2 separate regions of the Homo sapiens genome follow, and region 2 is linked to region 1. Evidence: promoter capture Hi-C in 16 types of primary human blood cells and fetal thymus (Javierre and others, 2016). All regions are on one chromosome and are shown on one strand. Each heading gives the region's core, a stretch centred on a gene start or on the middle of the fragment in contact. The rest is flanking DNA. Distances are from core to core; before and after follow the strand shown.

Evidence for each region. The method cuts DNA at HindIII sites, captures the fragments that hold promoters and counts their contacts. A CHiCAGO score of 5 or more calls a contact.
Region 2: a fragment that was not itself captured here is called in contact with the fragment with the promoter of HSPB6 in region 1 in 1 of 17 cell types (neutrophils); the score reaches 5.0 in neutrophils.

What each region holds. Positions count from the first base shown.
Region 1 is chr19:35,753,411-35,760,781 of GRCh38, reverse strand. HSPB6 (heat shock protein family B (small) member 6) reads left to right here and starts at 3,753. Exons shown (of 3, transcript NM_144617.3): 1 at 3,753-3,971; 2 at 4,888-5,010; 3 at 5,099-6,216. The coding sequence starts at 3,774. The coding sequence ends at 5,260. PROSER3 (proline and serine rich 3) reads right to left here and starts at 2,606. Exons shown (of 11, transcript NM_001367856.1): 1 at 2,556-2,606; 2 at 1,312-1,408; 3 at 791-993. The coding sequence starts at 2,566. It overlaps LIN37 (lin-37 DREAM MuvB core complex component), which reads right to left. Exons shown (of 9, transcript NM_019104.3): 7 at 6,625-6,765; 8 at 6,463-6,536; 9 at 6,263-6,389. The coding sequence ends at 6,308. RefSeq lists enhancers at 2,262-2,321, 2,362-2,601, 2,930-3,501. The HindIII fragment of the contact is 14,255 bases long and covers 1-7,371 here.
Region 2 is chr19:35,547,953-35,555,323 of GRCh38, reverse strand. ATP4A (ATPase H+/K+ transporting subunit alpha) reads left to right here. Exons shown (of 22, transcript NM_000704.3): 15 at 1-158; 16 at 248-402; 17 at 1,495-1,618; 18 at 2,142-2,287; 19 at 3,744-3,877; 20 at 4,213-4,314; 21 at 4,399-4,490; 22 at 4,681-5,293. The coding sequence ends at 4,709. Among named protein-coding and RNA genes, the nearest start is that of TMEM147-AS1, 5.6 kb to the right of the region's middle. The HindIII fragment of the contact is 2,360 bases long and covers 4,468-6,827 here.

The sequences.
Region 1 (7,371 bases), core at 2,504-5,003:
CTGGCAGTGGCTCACACCTGTAATCCCAGAACTTTGGGAGGCTGAGGCAGGTGGATCACCTGAGGTCAGGAGTTTGAGACCAGCCTGGCCAACATGGTGAAACCCCATCTCTACTAAAAATACACAAAATTAACCAGGTGTGGTGGTGGGCACCTGTAATCCCAGCTACTTGGGAGGCTGAGGCAGGAGAATCACTTGAACCCAGAAGGGAGAGGTTGCAGTAAGCCGAGATCATGCCACTGCATTCCAACTTGGGCAACAAGAGTGAAACTCCATCAAAAAAACAAAAACAAAAACAAAACAAAACAAAACACCCAATTTAGAGATAAATAAACTGAGGCTGGGCATGGTACGTCTGGCCTGTAATCACAGCACTTTTTGGAGGCCAAGGTGGGAGGTTTGCTGGGTGTGGTGGCATGCATCGTAATCCCAGCAACTCAGGAGGCTGAGGTGGGAGGACGGCTTGAGCCCAGGAGTTTGAGGTTATAGTGAGCTGTGATTGTACCACTGACCTCCAGCCTGAGTAACAGAGCGAGACCCTGTCTCTAAACAAATAAATAAATAAATAAAAAGAGATAAAGAAACTGAGGCCAAGATCATACAGAGAGTTAAATGACAGAGCTGGGATTTGAACTCAGGCAGTCTAGCACCAGAGTTCTTAACACACATAAACTGCCTGGTCCTAAAAGAGTGCTGCAGAAACAGCTCTGGCCATGATGATTATTACTGCATGCCTTCTCCCTCCCTCTAACCCAAAGCCTCTTTTTCCCCCAGGGCTGCTGGTACTTACTTGGCCACCACGGAGTCCCCGCTGTCAATCAGGGTGGGTGCTGGGGAGGCCCACATCTGTCCCTCAGTGGTGCTGGGCAGGGAGGGGGTCCCTGAACTGGATGGCCAGGACTCCTCAAACAGCTCAGGGGAGTTGGGACCTGTGGCTAGAGCCTTGGGAGCTTGTGGGAGCCTGGATCTCTGAGACCTGGATGGGCTCAGGGTCTAAGATCAGGGAAGAGCACAAGAAGAAAAAGTGTGAGGTCTCATGGGTCATCCCTGCAGGGGAACCAGGACACACACAAAGTCTCAGTCCAGAGGGGAGGAAACACATCCTGTAATGATAACAACCTAGTGTGATGGGGGCTCAGATGGGGAATCCAGGTGGTAGAGAGGGGGACAAGGGCAGGGCCGTGGGGAGGGGACAAGGGGCTGTCTCTTAAATCTCTCATCCCTATCTCTCATCACATGTCTTCCTACCCTCTAAAGGTCATTCTCTTGCTACTGGGCTGGCACTCAGCACTCTTTGAGGGGTGTCCTCACCTTGGGACACCAGGTCTGGCTCTGGGATGGCCAGTAGTGGCTTCGACCCAGGGGCGCATCTCCAAAGGGACTATCTTGAATGGAGAAAACTGGCAGGCTGCAAGAGGAAAGTGGGGTTCAGGCAGCACGTGGTTTCGCCGCAGCCCTGGGGAGGGGGACATTAGAGGAGGGCAGAACCAGACAATTCCCATAGATTCCTGGAGGAGACGGACTGTCATTTCCATGAAGCACCGTTGCACATTCAGGATATCGACAGTGGAAGGGTGAGTCCTGGGAGCCCGCCCCTGGAGCAGTCTTAACAGGGAGCAACTCAGGAACTGACAGCCGGTGGTTCTCAACCCTGGATCCAGTCTAGGAGGGGCTTTTCAACGTTACAGGCGCGCGGTTCCCATTCCAGACCAACAGAATCAGAATATCTATTAGTGGGGCTGGGCCTCCGTGTCTTTTCCGCAGCGTCCCAGGTGATTGCGAAGTGGAGTTCAGGTTAAGAATCGCGGCTCGCCGGGCGTGGTGGCTCACGCCTGTAATCCCAGCACTTTGGGATTACACCGAGGCGGGTGGATCACTTGAGGTCAGGTGTTCGAGACCAGCCTTACTAACATGGCGAAACCCCGTCTCTACTAAAAATATAAAAAATTAGCCAGGCGCGGTGGCAGGTGCCTGTAGTCCCAGCTACCTGGGAGGCTGAGGCATGAGAATTGCTTTAACCCGGGGGCAGAGGTTGCAGTAGCCAAGATTGTGCCACTGCACTCCAGTCTGGGCCAACAGAGCGAGAGACTCTGTCTTAAAAAAAAAGAAAGAAAGAAAGAACCGCGGCTGGATTATATCACCGAGCATTTCCCATACATTCCTGGGGGACACGAAGGCAAAGGGTAGATGGACTACAAGCCCCAGGATCCACTGGGCTCCGCCTCCGCGAGAAAGTTCAAAGACAACGCCCAGGCGTGTCTGGGGGCCATTTCAAAATGAAGAAATTCAGATCTCAAGCCTTTCTTGGACACCTTTAGAGGCAATAATTCCTTGGGGCCCACTCAGAGAGGAACATAAGACTCTTAGGGGACCCCCGGGATGCTAACGGCTACGGCTGGAGAGGCCAACGGCTGTGGAGCATGTTGGGAATTGTAGTTCCAGTGCGGTGGAGCCCTAGCGACTCCAGACCGTATCCAGCCCGTCCTAGGCTGTGCTGCTCTCGCCGTTGGTCCTCCCCAGCCTCCTGTAGTCCCTGGAAGAGCGATCGGCCTCACCTGCGGTCCATCCCGCGGCTCCCTCCGCGCTTCCGGCCGCTCTGCTCCTTCACCCAACAGGCCCCGCGCGCATCTCCGTCGCTTAGCAACGCCCTATCAGCCCCGCCCCTCTCTGTGCCCGCGCCGGAGGCGAGCGGCCTCCAAGGCGACCAATGAAAGAGAGGAAACAGAAGTACCCGGAGGGAGGTGTTTCAGGATTGGCTGGGACGACTGCCTGCCCGACAGGGCGTGTTTGATTGGAGAACCTGCCGAGTGTAGCAGTAATTGGCAAGACCGTGCACCAATGGGAAGGATCTGAGGCTGGGCTTGCGGTTAGGAGGTGATCTAAAGTACCCTCGCTTAAAAGTCCCGCTTTTTAAGCGCCTTCTTGCTGCAGAAGTCCTGTCCCGACCCCGGTCTAACTACCATTCTTTCTGTTGCAGGGGCAGTGGGGCGGGTTGGGGGGGGGGCGCGCTCTGCCCTCTCTCTAACCGCTATTCCTCCATCAGTTGGGCCAATCAGTCCGTCCCAACGGTCATCTAACTTCTTTCTTGCTGCAGGAGCAGCTGGTTGCATCAGTTGCCAGGTCTGGGCTCCTGGCCGAGGTAGCGGGATCAAAATGAGCTATTTCCAGCCCCAGCGCGCGGCCCCCGGGGGGCCAGCCTGAACTGTTCATGCTCGCGCCCCCTGGCCTCTGCGCACCAGAGGCTGAGTCAGAGGCACAGAATTAGGCCCGGCCTGCCGGGGGACTGGGCCCAAGGTCTGGCTGAGGATAAGGGTAGGGAGGGCCTGTTCTATGTCCTCCTGACATCCTGGCGGGGCTACCGCATTCTCCAGGAATCTGCTCCTAAAGACCTCCATCTGCGTCATCCTCAGAGCTGCCAGGGGGGAGGCAGTGGATTAAAGGGACTGGAAACTCTTCCGTGGGCCTCTTGGGTCCTGGGCCCCAATCACCACGCTGTGCTCCCCACACCCGCAAGGCTCCCCCTCCTCAGCCTTAGTTTCCTCTTCTGGAAATTGGGGAATCTTCATGTCACCTTCTTGACAGCATTTGCCAGGCATCCAGCAGGCGCTTAATAAATGGCCAAGTCATTGTTTGGGTTTCTAAATAAGGCTCTCCTAATGGCCGGGTCTGGCCACGGTCCCAGTGTCCCTGGGCAGCCCTCCGAGGGGCCGGCACAGGGCGCACTATAAATGAGCGGCTGCGCACGCAGGGGCACTGCAACGCGGAGGAGCAGGATGGAGATCCCTGTGCCTGTGCAGCCGTCTTGGCTGCGCCGCGCCTCGGCCCCGTTGCCCGGACTTTCGGCGCCCGGACGCCTCTTTGACCAGCGCTTCGGCGAGGGGCTGCTGGAGGCCGAGCTGGCTGCGCTCTGCCCCACCACGCTCGCCCCCTACTACCTGCGCGCACCCAGCGTGGCGCTGCCCGTCGCCCAGGTGCCAGGCCTGGGGAGGGGTGAACTCGACCACTTCCATTGCCAGGGGTCTGGGGCAGCCTGGGGTGGGAACATGTGAGAGAATGTTCGTTGGCCTTGGGCGGGGTGGAGAGTCCGCAGCTCCGAAGGGCTTCCGGAGTCAATGGGAATCTGAGGCCCGCACACTGCAGCGGGTGGGAGGTCCCCGTCGCTCTTAGGTGGGGGGCGGGGTGGGGGGCTCTCAGCTCTCCAGAGAATGGAAGGCCTGGGTCACTCTAAGGGGAGTCTTGCTTACTCTGAAGGAGGCTGGTGATCCGGGAAATCTGGGGAAAAGGAGGCGGGCAGTGACTCCTGAGGGGAAGGAATGTTCTTAGTCTCGGGGAAGAGTTGAGAGACTGTGTGCGGTGGCCCGATATCTCCAGAAGAGGAGGGGAGAGGGCCCTGCGACTTGAGGAAGGGTTCCCGGCCACTCTGAAGTGGGGGAAGGCTACCAGTAGCTGCCGAGGTCCCGTGACTCGAGTGGGAGAGTAGGCAGAGGACCCTGGAGACGGGGAAAGGGGCATCTTGGCGAGTTTGGCGGGGCTGGCGGAGAAGGGACCCGGGGCTCTGAGGAGGGAGCTGGGGAATCAGTGCCCTGGGGGGCACGATGACTTCGGATTCGCTGACACCGGGGGAGGGCAGAGGTTCCTGACCTTGCAGGGGAAGGGAGCCTCATCACTGCGGGGGAGAGGGCAATCCCAGATATTACAGGGGGAGGGCGTATCCCTGTTGTTCAGGGTGAAGAGGTCCTGGGTGACTCCCAGTAGGAGAGCTGACTGCTCAACTCCGGAGGCCAGAGTGAGCCGCGGCACGGAACCGACGGGGGTGGGGTCTCCCTGGGTGGGTCCTGGAGCCTGGCCCAGCCCAATGACAGTCCCGCCCGCGCCCGCTGCGCTCAGGTGCCGACGGACCCCGGCCACTTTTCGGTGCTGCTAGACGTGAAGCACTTCTCGCCGGAGGAAATTGCTGTCAAGGTGGTGGGCGAACACGTGGAGGTGCACGCGCGCCACGAGGAGCGCCCGGTGAGCCGCGGCGTGGGGCGGGGCTGGAGCGGGTACGCTCGCCGCCGGGCCGGAGGGGCGGGGCCGCTCAAGCCTCCCTCCCCTCCAGGATGAGCACGGATTCGTCGCGCGCGAGTTCCACCGTCGCTACCGCCTGCCGCCTGGCGTGGATCCGGCTGCCGTGACGTCCGCGCTGTCCCCCGAGGGCGTCCTGTCCATCCAGGCCGCACCAGCGTCGGCCCAGGCCCCACCGCCAGCCGCAGCCAAGTAGGAGGGGGCTGGGCCGCGCCCGCACCCCGGGAGCCTCCTCAGGCTCCCTCTATTAAAGCCGATCTGACTCCGCCCAGCCAGATGTCCCGAGTGCGCCAAGGACTGTCCTCTCACCCACTCCTGGATTCTGCCCTGACCTCCATCCTGGACACTGCCTTGATAACATAGACCCTTCCACTGACACCCTCGCTCTCACACCCCCTCCAGCTTTCCGACCCCACACCGACAACTCCCCGGCTTCCAGACCCTACCAGCACTACCCTAACCCTCAGCCGACAGTCTCAGCCCCACCGACCCACTTTCTTGGCATATAGCCCCACTTAAGACCCCTCCTCTACTTCCTTCTGAGTCCTCTACAAAGACATCCGGGTACTACATTTCCATCCCTTCCCTATTTTGACACCAAATTATGGTGTAGACAGCCCTCCCCCAACCCCAGGCCAGTCAGGCACAATCCCCCCACCCCCCAAACGTCCTGGACTGCACAGACCTCCCACTCCAGACCATCCAGGCCTGGTTCCCAAGACCCGATCCTTCCCCTGCAACCAGACAGTCTACAACTGCCCCCTCCAGCCCATTTTCTGCCGTGAAACCCCAGCCAGCCACACCAGACTCTGGAACCCTTTTTCGACTGCCCCAACTCTTGGACACCAGGCCAACTAGAACACCCAACACCAAACTGTACAGACTCTCCCACCCCAACCTCCCCAGACTCTGCACGGATGTCCTAGGCCCCCTCCCCAACTCTAACCAGACCCCATCCCCCTAAGTCCCTTTGTCTTGACCCCCAAGTCTTCAACCAGATATCCTCGGCAACCCACCTCCCACCCTCCTCCTCTTCTCCTTCAAGACCCAACTGAGCACCCGCTCTGATTCCCCACAGCCTTTCTCCCTGCCACCACTCCCTTAGTCTTTCCCAGGCTTACTCTCCCAATAAATGTGCTAGAGCTCTGCCAACTGCTTTGTGCCTGGGCCAGGAAGGAGGGACCGGAGCAGACACCAGTGTGGAGCTGGGGGATGTTTACTGGTGTGGGGGGACCTGGGAACATCACTGTCGTTCGTACATCTCTCGTAGGATCTTCATGCTTTCTGAGTAACGAAGCTGGTTCCGATGAGAGGCCTCCTTCCACCTGGGGAGGCAGAGGGGAGACTCAGCAGTTGCAAAGGGCCCTACGAGGGGCAAGCAGGCTGGGGGACGCTCACCTCTGGCGGATGCGTTTCCAGCGCTGCATGTTGCGATAGATGAGTGTGGAGGGTGAGGGCTCGGGCTCAGAGGGCTGCATGGACAGACAGGCCAGGTTGAGTGGCCATTCCTGAGCCCTACCGCATGTGCCCCATAACCCTGGGCCAGCCTGGCATACTCACCTCATCGTCAGGGGTGCCCTGCATCTCAGGCTGCAGTGGAGATGGGATGCGGGATCTGCAGGCATCTCCGGGTGGCCCCGGGGGTGTGGGTGGCGGCAGCTTGTACACATCACGACTCTTGCTGTTGGTTACCTCTGAGCCCTGGGGACACAAGGGCCCCATGCCAGGCCCAAGAGAGTCAAAGCAGAGGGGCTGGGAATCCACATTCATCCCTCCTGCCTTTCCCAGCAACAAATGGCATGAGGGGCTCGCTAAGGGACTCAGACAGGAGGCATGTATGAAGGGCAGACACCTCAACCAGCCAGCGGGTCAAGTGTGCCTGCCCCAGGGACCCCTGTCTTCTCCTATCCAGCCCAGAGACTCCATCTACACCTGTCAGCCCAGGGAGTCGCGTCTGCCTGCCTCAGGGAATCCTGTCTAGGGGGTCACGTCTGTGCCACCTAGGAAGCTCTGTCCATTTCTGACAGTCCTATATGTCTGAAGGGTCCTATATGTCTGTCCTGGGGACCCTTGTCTACCCCGCTGGGTCAGATGGCTTATAGACTCCCATCCATTCCTGCCCAGCCCCTGCTCCTCAAGGCCTGGTGGCCACTTCTGTCTGTACTAAGGACCCTTGTCTAGCCCCTCGGCTCTTGGGAACCCCTGATCTTGGAGGTCCACATCTAACTGTCCAGGGTAACCCTGTTCCCTGTCTCCCAGGCCAGGTGGTTACGTATGTCTTCCCTAGGGACTCTGATCCACACCCCA
Region 2 (7,371 bases), core at 4,398-6,897, 210 kb after region 1:
GGCCGTCACGGGGGATGGTGTGAATGACTCCCCAGCTCTGAAGAAGGCAGACATCGGAGTAGCCATGGGCATCGCTGGCTCAGATGCTGCCAAAAATGCAGCTGACATGATCCTGCTGGATGACAACTTTGCCTCCATTGTGACAGGCGTGGAGCAGGGTCCGAGCCACGCCAGGGGGAGGGCAGGCAGTGTGGGCACAGGAGGGAGAGGGCTGTGAGGAGGCTGAGGTGCCCACCCTACCCCACAGGTCGACTGATCTTCGACAACCTGAAGAAGTCTATTGCCTACACATTGACCAAGAACATCCCAGAGCTGACACCCTACCTCATCTACATCACCGTCAGCGTGCCCCTGCCCCTCGGGTGCATCACCATCCTCTTCATCGAACTCTGCACTGACATTGTAAGTCCACAGCCCAGGGTACCCATCCACAGGGTGCCCAGAGACACTTGCTTGCAGATGGACAGGAGGGACAGAGACCACCACAGACACTCTTGGGCACAGAGTGACAGACAAGACCTGTGTGTGCAATGACAGCCAGTGCAGGACACATGGGTGGCAGGCAGGTGAACAGACCTAAATGGACATACAGCCATGCACACACAGGCGGACACTCAGGTAGGCCCGGGCCGACCCATGCACACACATGACTCAGATACAGATACTCAGACAGAGATGGAAACAGAACAGGTATCTGGCCAAACTTGAATCACAGACACGTGCCCCTAAACAGACACGGACAAATAAACCCCCTCAGATAGACCCCATGGCAGACAGACAGAAAAGAACCACAGATACAGTCACGAATGCAGCCAGAGGCGCAGCTGTGTTGACAGGTATTTATTCGGTAACATTTACACAGTGCTTTCTCTGGGCCAGACACACCATCATTTCCTTAATTTTGTACTCATAACCACACTATGAGATGAGTTTTGTTACTATCACCCGTACTTTACTGATGAGCTCATCAAGGCATAGACAGGTAGAGTGGATTGTCCCAGGTCACTGGGCAAATAAGTGGCCCGGCTGTGACTTGAGCTTGAGCAGTCACAGGTCCCACAGCCTGTGGTCGTGGTCAGTATGCTCTGCTGCCACTCTAGGCACAAGCAGATGAAGGGGCACGGCGACACTGAGAGACTGAAGATACACAGAGATAGGGAGTGACACAGAAATACACAAGAGCAGATACAGTCACAGAGAATTACACTGGAGACAGGGACAGAGAAACAGAGTGAGGAACAGAGAAAGAGAGGGAGGGAGACAGAGGGAGAAGATAAAAGCAGATGTTCTTACGAAGATGGGCACCAGGATGCCAACACCCAGGGGCCAGTGGGGCCCAGGCTGTCCAGGCTGGTGTGGCTGTGCCGTCCCTGCAGGTCCTGCCTGCTAACCTCAGTCCTGTTCCTGCTCACAAGTGGGGGAAGGGGGACCCGAAGTGGAGGGGACAAGGGCCCAGCCAAACCCTCAGTCCCAGTTCCTTCCACTCCTGGCCAGTTCCCATCTGTGTCCCTGGCATATGAAAAGGCCGAGAGTGACATCATGCACCTGCGTCCACGCAACCCAAAGCGTGACAGATTGGTCAACGAGCCCCTGGCTGCCTACTCCTACTTCCAGATTGGTGGGTGCCCGTGGGCCGGGGAGCCTGGAGGTGGGGGGCTCTGCGCTGGGCTGCTCGCCTGCCCCAGGCCCTGCCTTGGGCTCCGGCTGGTTCTGGACCTCAGTGTCTGCATTTGGTCCTGGGTCTCCGTTGTCCTCCGTGTCCCTCTCTGTTTGTGACAGTCTCTCTGGTTCTGCTGTGTCCCTGCTCTCTCTCTGACCTTGCTCTCCATGACCCTGTCTCTGAGTTGTTGCCTATTTCTGTCTTTTTGGGTCCTGGATGTGTCTTTTTCTCTCTGTCCCTGCCTCTGTCTCTCTGTCCCTGCTTCTCTCTCTGCCTCTGTGTCTCTGTCACTGTTTCTGTGTCCCTGGCTCTGTGTGTCCTTGACCTTGTGTATCTGTGTCCCTGTCTCTCTTCCCGTGTCCCTGTCTGTGTGTCCTTGACCTTTGTGTATCTGTGTCCCTGTCTCTCCATGTCCCTCTCTTCCTGTGTCCCTGTCTCTGTGTCCATCTCTGTCTCCCTGTGTCCCCTTGTCTCTCTCCAGGTGCCATTCAGTCCTTTGCTGGCTTCACTGACTACTTCACGGCAATGGCCCAGGAGGGCTGGTTCCCACTGCTGTGCGTGGGGCTGCGGGCGCAGTGGGAGGACCACCACCTACAAGATCTGCAGGACAGCTACGGCCAGGAGTGGGTGAGCCCTGCCCCGCCCCATCCCATCCCTGGGCTCCCTCCTTCCCAGGGCAACTTGCCTTGTGTGCGGCCCACTTGTTCCTCCACGTGTGACTGAGTTCAGCCAGAGCATCCCGGACCCCCAGACTCCCTGCCAGTTCGGGGGGGCAAGGGCCTTTCCCACCATCTCCAGCTCCAAACTCCTGCTTCTGATGATCGCAACTGCAGATGGGTGTCTCTGCCCTGACACTAATGCATCATCTCAGATGTGGAACCAGGCCCCTATTCTGCTATTTTCCCTACAGCATCACTCCCACAGGGTATTTGCACATGTGGTCTATTTTAATGAAGGTTTGGAGCACAGTGAGGCTAGATCTGGCCAGCAGATGTGTTTAGTTCACCTGTAGAGTTACATACAGACGAGGATACTTCCCTTAAACATTTACTATCATGGTTAAGGTAGACACTGAAGCCAGACTGCCTGGACTTATGGTCTGGTACTGCTTCTCACAAGCTGTGTAACCCTGGGCAGGTTGCTTTGCCTCTCTGTGCCTGTTTTCTCACCTGCAAAGTGGAGAGAATATCAAAGTCTACCTCAGTGGTTTTCAGTTTGCTCCCAGACCAGCAGCATCACCATCTCCTGGGAACATGTTTGCAGTGCAAATTCTCAGGCTCTATCCCAGCCCTCTGGGAGCCCTTGCTGGGATTCTCATGCATGTTCAAGTTCCAGCACCACTGATTTACCTCCTAGGGTTACCCAGCGGATTAAATGAGCTAATGCACGTGCAACACTCGGCACCTGGAGCAGTCAGTGATCCCCACAGTTAGCTGGTATTAGGAGTTGTGTTGCCAGGCATGGTGGCACATGCTTGTAATTCCAGCTACTTGGGAGGCTAAGGCAGGAGAATCTCCTGAACCTGGGATTCGGAAGTTGCAGTGAGCTGAGATTGCACCACTGCACTCCAGCCTGGGTGACAGAGCGAGATTCCATCTCAAAAAAAAAAGTAGCTGTGTTGAAGAAATGGGCTGCATAGTGGCTGCCCCCTTTAAATGGGGCATCTGCCCTCTTTTCCCAAAGGCCCGCGGTGACTGCCTCACCTATTTTTGCCATCTGCCTGGCCCCTGGAGTCACTGGACTTTGCAAATCCCATCTGAGGATTTCAATTCCCCTTTCCCAGGCCCTTTCTTTTGGGTGCCTCCCCCCTTTCACTATGAAAGCAGTCGGCCCAGCCTACAGTTTTCCCGGCCACTGTCATCCAAGCTCTGCTAGGCTGAGGTTTCTGGGCCCCACGTTCTGGGGTCCTGCACACCTGGCAGACCCTGCCTCTCTCCTTCCCCCCACCCCCACACTCTGATGCAAGGCAGAGAGAGCATTTAGGGGTTCACGGCCCTGGGACCCTATGCCCGGTGGGCTGCAGAGGCTCTCCGCCGGGACTCAGGCTGGACTCAGGCTGTTTCCGTTTGCCCCTGGCCTGCAGACATTCGGGCAGCGCCTGTACCAGCAGTACACCTGCTACACCGTGTTCTTCATCAGCATTGAGGTGTGCCAGATCGCCGATGTCCTCATCCGCAAGACGCGCCGTCTCTCTGCCTTCCAGCAAGGCTTCTTCAGGTGTCCCTGGCTGGCCCTCTTCCTGCCCTCCAACCCCTGGTCCCAACTCCCATCAGATCCTGACTGTGGTTTAGAACAGCCGGCAAATGCCAGCGGGTGCCAGTGCCAGATGGTGACATGCCAAAAAAACCTTTCTAACTGGCCAATAACTCCCCCCACGGCCCCCTCCACATTTCACTAAAGGGGTGGTGCTGAGAGGCCCGGGCCACTCCAGTGTTCAGTGTGTAGAACACCTCCCTGCTGCTGCTGACATCTGACCTACTTTGACCCACAGTATCCTGATTTCCATCACGTCCCCAATTCCTAATGGCCTGTCCCATTCTGCCCACCCCCAGGAATAAGATCCTGGTGATCGCCATCGTGTTCCAGGTCTGCATCGGCTGCTTCCTGTGCTACTGCCCCGGCATGCCCAACATCTTCAACTTCATGCCCATTCGGTGAGAGGCTGTGAGGGGCAAGGACAGGGAGGGGGCTGTAGGGCACAGGCCTGGGATGGCCTTCACCTTGCCATGTGCCTTCAGGTTCCAGTGGTGGCTGGTCCCCCTGCCCTACGGCATCCTCATCTTCGTCTATGATGAGATCCGGAAGCTTGGAGTTCGCTGTTGCCCAGGGAGTGAGTGTGGAGACTGGGAGCCTGGGGGCAGGGGACTGAAACGTTTGAGCAGCTGCACCCACCTTTGATCCTCAACACTTGGCCTCTAAGCCCTTGACCCTCCATAGCAACCAGCACTGACCTCTGAGCCCCTGGCCCTGCCTAAGTGGCACCCCCAGCACTGAGTCTCCTTTCTCCCTCTCTCTCCCAGGCTGGTGGGACCAGGAACTCTACTATTAGAGGGACGACTGCCTTCAAGCATCCCTGCAACTGCCACAGCAGGTGGGGGCAGGGCTCGTGGGACCCTCTGGACAGCCACCAAGATATCTGAGCAACCAAGAGTCCCAGCCCCACCAGTATCTGCTTCTGTAGCCCACGGCACCCCAAACTTGGAGGGACCTGCCCACTCCCCTCCCCCATTCCCAAGGTTCGCACCTCCTGGAGCAGCAGCGCCTGGGCAGTCCTCTGGGCTGGCCTCGGGAAAGCCGCCACCTGTGGTGGCGGTGGGGCTCTGACAGGGAGTACAGCTGACCGCTTCTGGAGGGTGTTTCTGTTCTTAGGACTCCAGTCCAGGCTGGACGGCTGCCTGAGGGCCCTTCGTTAAAGACACGCTTGTGTCCTGGGCGATGGTAATAAAACCAGCTCATGCTGACTGTGCTGTATCTGGTGCCAGGCACTGTCCTCAGCGTCTCTCATTAGTGCTTGTGATCTCCCACAGTCCTGTACATGGGGGCTGTTTATCCAGGGCTGCACCTCCAGTGCCTAGTACACAGCCTGGCACATAGTAGGTCCTCAATAAACCTGCCTTGGGGAAATGATTCCTATTCCTTTGCCCAGGGTCATGGCATCTAAACGCAAGCTGGGCCGTGGCGATAGGCACCCCCTACCACCTCTGGGCTTTCTCTGTTCTCAGCACCCTTCTCCCTCCTGGAGGCTCCCAGACACAAGGGGGCCCAAGTCATTTCCACATCAAGCATCCCCCACCCCCCAGCGGTGTCTCCTTTCTGAGCCTACCTGCTTACTCCTCTGTCCCGGCAATGGCCAGTTCCTGAACAACTCCTGGAGGTCCCCTCCTCACACCCCTCACCTGAAAGGTTAACCCCATCCCCCTACCTCCCATCTCTGCCGCTCCTTTCCCAGCCCCTCTGTTCACCTCTCTTCCTCTTTCTTATGTGGCTTTCTCTGGCTAGGGCCTGGGCTTCTCCTTCCTTGTGACCACAGCCCCCCAGTCCCCCATGGCTTCAGTTGTTTCTGCAGTGAGACCCACCTCTGTCCCCAGCTTCCCCCAGTGTTGGTGACCTACACTGGCCTCTTCATCACCCCCCATGCCTGTACCCATGCACTGACCCAATCTGATAGTCCCACTGTCCCATCAGTGTGGTCCCTTCTCCCTTGGAAACGTGGTGAGCCCTCGGGCTTACAAGCCCCAAACTCCAGTTATCCTGGAACTCTTTGCTCCTCCCTTACCTGTTAGCGCCCCCTGCCGGTAAATAAATACACACAGCCACTGATCACCAACACCTGGGCTTGGCTTCTAGTCACTCTCCTAACCCCACAAAGCCCTGCCCTGGTCCAGCCCTGGCCTCGTGGCCTCAGCTTTCCCATTTCAGACAACAGCCATGCAGAGCTTCCTAAAGCCAAATCTGACCCTGTCCTTCCTCTGCCTAGAGCTCTCCTTGGTTCCCAAAGCCTCCTGTGATCTGACCCCTGCCAGCTTCTGTAGTCTTACAAGTCCCCTTGAACTCATTCCAACCAGTTATGTTCCCTTGGGAAAAACAGGCCCCCTCTCTGACCTCAAGACCATTACCTCTGCCTTGCCCCAATCACTCATTCTTTAGGTCTCAGCTCACATGTCCTCTGCTCAGGGGAGCCCGCACTGCTTCCACGGCAGGCCAGGCGGCTCCTCTGGGTCCCCATAACCCGGGGTTTTCCCATCATAACCCCGATCACCTGAAGCCTGGCTCCCCACAGTCCAACCGCCCAGGCTTCACCGTCCTCTGCCAACTCAGGCCCAGCCACTCCAGTCTCTCTCCCTGAACCCCATGTAAGCTGGGATTATTCCAGTTGGTAATTTTGCATCCTACACTTGTCTCAATATGTGTGAAGAGCTATGTGGGGCATGGAAGTGTGGGAGAAAGTGACCTTGTCACAAGTCCACCCAGATAGACTGCCCCATCTACTTCCTTTCTACATCAAAGTCAAGGTGATCAATCACTTCCAGCTCCCAAGAGACCCATGGACCCTGTCTTTACTCCAAACAATGAGGAAGAGTGGCCTAGATGGCAGCTGCCGTCTGAAGGCAAATGCTCCCTCTGGAAACATCGAGATGGTCATAGTGAGCTTTCCTAGGCCTAAGCTTAAAAAAAATCAGGTGGAACTTCAACGGCCTGGTGGAGGAGGAGGGGCAATGGTGCTATCCTACTCCCTGGGGTACCCCACTGGGAACACCAAGGATGGGGAGCATCTTCCTGAGTGGGGAGGGTGTACATCAAAGTGGAGCTTAAACATGACATTCAAAACTTCTGACACATCCCCCTCAGAGAAAGGCGGGGAGCCGGCTTCAGTGGACCAAGGAAGGCTGAGGGTGGAGGGGGGCATCCAGGACAATGTCCAAGCTGGGGGCCCCACTGCTCTGCTTCTTGGCTGCAGCTGTCTCTCCACTCCACCCTGAGAAGGCTCAGGCTGGGATCTGATCTGAGGGCCATAGAACTGAGGAGCTCACAGTCACAACTCTCCCCCCAGCCCCATGCTGACCCCATGGCTTGAACGATGTTAAGAATCTGGCTGGACAAATTATTCTAGGGAGCAGTTTCAGAAAAGCTGGTTTTGCTGGTTGGGTAAAACCAAAGGCCAAGCAATTGGACTGTCCACTGTGTAACAAGGGGCCGCAAGTGGCTGCAAG